2 separate regions of the Homo sapiens genome follow, and region 2 is linked to region 1. Evidence: promoter capture Hi-C in human tissues and cell types (Jung and others, 2019). All regions are on one chromosome and are shown on one strand. The core of a region is centred on a gene start or on the middle of the fragment in contact, and the rest is flanking DNA. Distances in the headings are between cores, read along the strand shown. Region 1 holds the start of UBC (ubiquitin C). Region 2 overlaps DHX37 (DEAH-box helicase 37).

Evidence for each region. Contacts are between HindIII fragments. The study calls those that stand out against the background at their distance.
Region 2: a fragment that was not itself captured here is called in contact with the fragment with the promoter of UBC in region 1 in 1 of the 25 tissues and cell types used here (IMR-90 fibroblasts).

What each region holds. Positions count from the first base shown.
Region 1 is chr12:124,913,400-124,916,099 of GRCh38, reverse strand. UBC (ubiquitin C) reads left to right here and starts at 1,450. Exons shown (of 2, transcript NM_021009.7): 1 at 1,450-1,513; 2 at 2,326-2,700. The coding sequence starts at 2,329. It overlaps MIR5188 (microRNA 5188), which reads right to left and starts at 553; the gene lies at 441-553. RefSeq lists enhancers at 1-97, 1,422-1,871, 1,196-2,153 and a silencer at 872-1,211. The HindIII fragment of the contact is 8,951 bases long and covers 1-2,700 here.
Region 2 is chr12:124,965,504-124,968,203 of GRCh38, reverse strand. It overlaps DHX37 (DEAH-box helicase 37), which reads left to right. Exons shown (of 27, transcript NM_032656.4): 11 at 986-1,081; 12 at 1,326-1,411; 13 at 2,392-2,536. Among named protein-coding and RNA genes, the nearest start is that of DHX37, 22 kb to the left of the region's middle. The HindIII fragment of the contact is 4,237 bases long and covers 1-2,700 here.

The DNA of each region.
Region 1 (2,700 bases), core at 201-2,700:
TGTTCATAACTTAAAACAAGAATGCAGCCTTTTCCTAATGGCAAAATATTTTTCAGTTGGTAGCCTCTTTTTCTCTTTTTTTTGAAGCTTTTAAGGGTAGAAATCAAAATAGCCTCCCTACCTCCAATACATTTGTAGAAACAGGGACTATTTGTAGAAGAGTCCAGAAGGAACAGTGGCTGGGAAATTGAGGGCATGAGGGAGACTTTTCACTGTACACTTTAAAAAGACACATTTAAAAAATCTCACCATGTTCGTATATTTTAAAACATTTAAAAAATATACTGAAGAAATGACACGTAGGGATCACAAAATAGGTTGTGGTAAAAATTTAAAAAGCTGGCTGGTGATGCTTTTCTCCCCACTTCTTTTACCAAAATAGAATTGCCCTGTAGAATTACATTTCATATTTGACACCCTACCCTGCACTGAAATAAGGTTGGGATTCTATTCCTGTCTTTTAAAATCTCCGGTTTAAATGGGTCCGATTATTGAATGGATCCTGCTTACAATAATCGTACCCATTGAAACCAGAGAAATTTCCATGCCTCCCTGTTGGCATCAAGTAGGACCTTTCCATACCTGGCCCTCAGAATGTACAGGAAGGTGGAAGAACAGTCTAGAAGGATGTCGTTCGCTCAGCCTTGCGTTCCAGCTAAAATAAAACTGTGTGGGGTTTCCGCCTCTTTTTTCCAAATTTAACCTGGACACCCAGCTCCTCTGCAGTGTCTCCCCTGGAAAGTTCTCGAGCGTTCCCCAGCTTTAGGGCCACGCCCGCCCTGAGATCTGCCGAGTCATTGTCCTTGTCCCGCGGCCCCGGGAGCCCCCCGCGACCGGCCTGGGAGGCTCAGGGAGGTTGAAGGGGGCTGAGCAAAGGAAGCCCCGTCATTACCTCAAATGTGACCCAAAAATAAAGACCCGTCCATCTCGCAGGGTGGGCCAGGGCGGGTCAGGAGGGAGGGGAGGGAGACCCCGACTCTGCAGAAGGCGCTCGCTGCGTGCCCCACGTCCGCCGAACGCGGGGTTCGCGACCCGAGGGGACCGCGGGGGCTGAGGGGAGGGGCCGCGGAGCCGCGGCTAAGGAACGCGGGCCGCCCACCCGCTCCCGGTGCAGCGGCCTCCGCGCCGGGTTTTGGCGCCTCCCGCGGGCGCCCCCCTCCTCACGGCGAGCGCTGCCACGTCAGACGAAGGGCGCAGCGAGCGTCCTGATCCTTCCGCCCGGACGCTCAGGACAGCGGCCCGCTGCTCATAAGACTCGGCCTTAGAACCCCAGTATCAGCAGAAGGACATTTTAGGACGGGACTTGGGTGACTCTAGGGCACTGGTTTTCTTTCCAGAGAGCGGAACAGGCGAGGAAAAGTAGTCCCTTCTCGGCGATTCTGCGGAGGGATCTCCGTGGGGCGGTGAACGCCGATGATTATATAAGGACGCGCCGGGTGTGGCACAGCTAGTTCCGTCGCAGCCGGGATTTGGGTCGCAGTTCTTGTTTGTGGATCGCTGTGATCGTCACTTGGTGAGTAGCGGGCTGCTGGGCTGGCCGGGGCTTTCGTGGCCGCCGGGCCGCTCGGTGGGACGGAGGCGTGTGGAGAGACCGCCAAGGGCTGTAGTCTGGGTCCGCGAGCAAGGTTGCCCTGAACTGGGGGTTGGGGGGAGCGCAGCAAAATGGCGGCTGTTCCCGAGTCTTGAATGGAAGACGCTTGTGAGGCGGGCTGTGAGGTCGTTGAAACAAGGTGGGGGGCATGGTGGGCGGCAAGAACCCAAGGTCTTGAGGCCTTCGCTAATGCGGGAAAGCTCTTATTCGGGTGAGATGGGCTGGGGCACCATCTGGGGACCCTGACGTGAAGTTTGTCACTGACTGGAGAACTCGGTTTGTCGTCTGTTGCGGGGGCGGCAGTTATGGCGGTGCCGTTGGGCAGTGCACCCGTACCTTTGGGAGCGCGCGCCCTCGTCGTGTCGTGACGTCACCCGTTCTGTTGGCTTATAATGCAGGGTGGGGCCACCTGCCGGTAGGTGTGCGGTAGGCTTTTCTCCGTCGCAGGACGCAGGGTTCGGGCCTAGGGTAGGCTCTCCTGAATCGACAGGCGCCGGACCTCTGGTGAGGGGAGGGATAAGTGAGGCGTCAGTTTCTCTGGTCGGTTTTATGTACCTATCTTCTTAAGTAGCTGAAGCTCCGGTTTTGAACTATGCGCTCGGGGTTGGCGAGTGTGTTTTGTGAAGTTTTTTAGGCACCTTTTGAAATGTAATCATTTGGGTCAATATGTAATTTTCAGTGTTAGACTAGTAAATTGTCCGCTAAATTCTGGCCGTTTTTGGCTTTTTTGTTAGACAATGCAGATCTTCGTGAAGACTCTGACTGGTAAGACCATCACCCTCGAGGTTGAGCCCAGTGACACCATCGAGAATGTCAAGGCAAAGATCCAAGATAAGGAAGGCATCCCTCCTGACCAGCAGAGGCTGATCTTTGCTGGAAAACAGCTGGAAGATGGGCGCACCCTGTCTGACTACAACATCCAGAAAGAGTCCACCCTGCACCTGGTGCTCCGTCTCAGAGGTGGGATGCAAATCTTCGTGAAGACACTCACTGGCAAGACCATCACCCTTGAGGTCGAGCCCAGTGACACCATCGAGAACGTCAAAGCAAAGATCCAGGACAAGGAAGGCATTCCTCCTGACCAGCAGAGGTTGATCTTTGCCGGAAAG
Region 2 (2,700 bases), core at 20-2,519, 52 kb before region 1:
CCCTTCACAGTTCTGCCTTGTCCCCATCATACCTGCTCCGTTACCCACCTCATGTTACTGAAATGGATGTGACCTTTCTGTGTGAATAGATTGTGATCGCTTCCAGCCAGACTTTTTTTTTTTGAGACGGAGTTTTACTCTTGTTGCCCAGGCTGGAGTGCAGTGGCAGATCTTGGCTCACTGCAACCTCCACCTCCCGGGTTCAAGTGATTCTCCTGCCTCAGCCTCCCAAGTAGCTGGGATTACAGGTCCCACACTGGTCGCACACTGCCACGCCTGGCTAATTTTTTGTATTTTAGTAGAGATGGGGTTTCATCATGTTGGCCGGGCTGGTCTCGAACTCCTGACCTCAGGTGAGCTGCCTGCCTCAGCCTCCCAAAGTGCTGGAATTACAAGTGTGAGCCACTGCACCCAGCCTAGCCAGAGACTCTTGTGTGCCGAATTTGGGCCCAAGGCTGGCTTTCTTCATGTTAGGGAGGCAAGGAGCCATGGGGGTGCTTCCCAACAAGCTTGACCTCGTCCTTCAAGGAAGCCGAGGTTGCTGCTTCGTGATGCTCTGTCCTTGCTCTGCTTATGGCCTTTCGGGGCTCCCATCCATTCTCTGGGAGACTGGGGCTGGCAGGAGGTGAGGCTGGAGCTTGGGCAGTGAGCCTTCCTGCAGCCTCAGGTCTCAGGGCAGCCGCGGCGCTGTCACTGTCGTGAGTGTGGTGTGCAGGGTTCCGTGTGAGCACGCTTCTCAGGGCTTTTGGGTCTGTTCCTGGGAGTGATGCTGCTGGGCTGTGCAGTCGCCGTGTTTGTTGAACTCCCTGGCGGCAGCTGCTTCAGTCTGGGCGTGCTGCCCCCTGCTCATCTATGTCTGTGTACTCCTGTCCTCCCCCATTATCCCTGGAACCTTGCCTCTCAGAGCATGGCTTGGCAGGTGCTTTTGCTAAGCAAATGTTTGTGAGTGACTGATGGATAACAGAGGGGCCCATTCTTTCCACAGGTGGCATCCTGGTGTTCCTGACGGGGCAGGCTGAGGTGCATGCGCTGTGCCGCAGGCTCAGGAAGGCTTTCCCACCCTCCAGAGCCCGGCCACAAGGTAAAGAGGACGCCCCGACCAGCACTCTGCCCTGAGCAGCTGGGCTTGGCCTCGCGCTCCCTGGCTGGGGTGCAGCTCCTGCCTCTGAGCTTCTCTCTGGAAGCATCAGCACCTTTGCCATCCCCCACCTCACCCCCGAATAAATGGCCACCACTGAGTGGCCATGCCTTGAACAACAAAGGGCAGTGTGCTGGCGACCACGCCGGCCACAGACGCCTTTCTCCCCAACCTGCCCCTCTCCCAGAAAAGGACGACGATCAGAAAGACTCGGTGGAGGAAATGCGGAAGTTTAAGAAGTCAAGGGCCAGGGCCAAGAAGGCGCGGGCTGAGGTACGTGGGGGGCTGGCAGGGACTCCTGGAGAGTAAGGCTGCGTTGTCCAGGATGGCAGCTACCAGCCCCATGTGGCTGCTTAGGTTTAAGTGTAATTGGAATAAAATGAAGTTAAAAATCCAGTTCCTGGTCAGGCACAGTGGCTCATGCCTGTAATTCCAGCACTTTGGGAGGCCAAGGTGGGAGGATCGCTTGAGGCCTAGAGTTTGAGACCAGCTTGGGCAACATGGTGAGACCATGTCTCTACAAAAAATTTTTTAGATTAATCCAGTGCAGTGGCGCATGCCTGTGGTCCCAGCTGCTCAGAGGCTGAGGTGGGAGAACCATCTGAGCCCAGGAGGTCAAGGCTGCAATGAGCTGTGATGGTCCCACTGCACTCTAGCCTGGGCAACAGAGTGAGACTCTGTCTCAGAAATGGAAAAGAAGGCCAGGCGTGGTGGCTACGCCTGTAATCCCAGCACTTTGGGAGACTGAGGCAGGTGGATCACCTGAGGTCAGGAGTTCAAGTCCAACCTGACCAACATGGCGAAACCCTGTCTCTACTAAAAATACAAAATTAGCCAGGCATGGTGGTGTGCACCTGTACTCCCAGCTACTCTGGGATGGCTGGGCTGGCAGGGGCTTTCCTCTAGCCTCTGCGTGAAGGCACCGTGGGTCTTGTGCTCCGTGACGGTAGCGTAAGCACTCAGCCGTCTCTGACTTGCCTGTTGCACTACCGATGTGTCAGGCAGCGATCCAGGTTCCTCACGTGTGTTCACACAACCCTCCCACCAGCCTGGGAGACAAGGTCTATGATAGTCCCCAATGTTTAGGTGGGGAAATTCTGGCAGGAAGAGAGAATTATGTGGCCTGCCCCGGGTTGCATGGCCCATGGGTGTGGACCGGGGCTTCCATGCGAGGGCACCTGTCTTCCTGCACGTGCCACGTCCTCACACCCAGGATCCCTGCAGCCCAGGTGTCTATGTCTTGTTCGCCGTAGGTGCTGCCCCAGATCAACTTGGATCATTACTCGGTGTTACCGGCAGGCGAAGGCGATGAGGACAGGGAGGCAGAAGTGGATGAGGAAGAGGGGGCCCTGGACTCCGACCTCGATCTGGACCTGGGGGATGGCGGGCAAGATGGAGGTGTGGCCCGAGCACCGATTCCTGCTCATGTTCATTATCTCTGCCCTGAGGATGTGCCCAGAGCCCTTGTGGGCCCCCCGGGGGCCGGGGTTCTAGCAGCTTTGTCCCCGATGCTTCCTGAGTTCTTGAAACTGCCTGGCACGAGGAGGCCTCAAACATTTGCC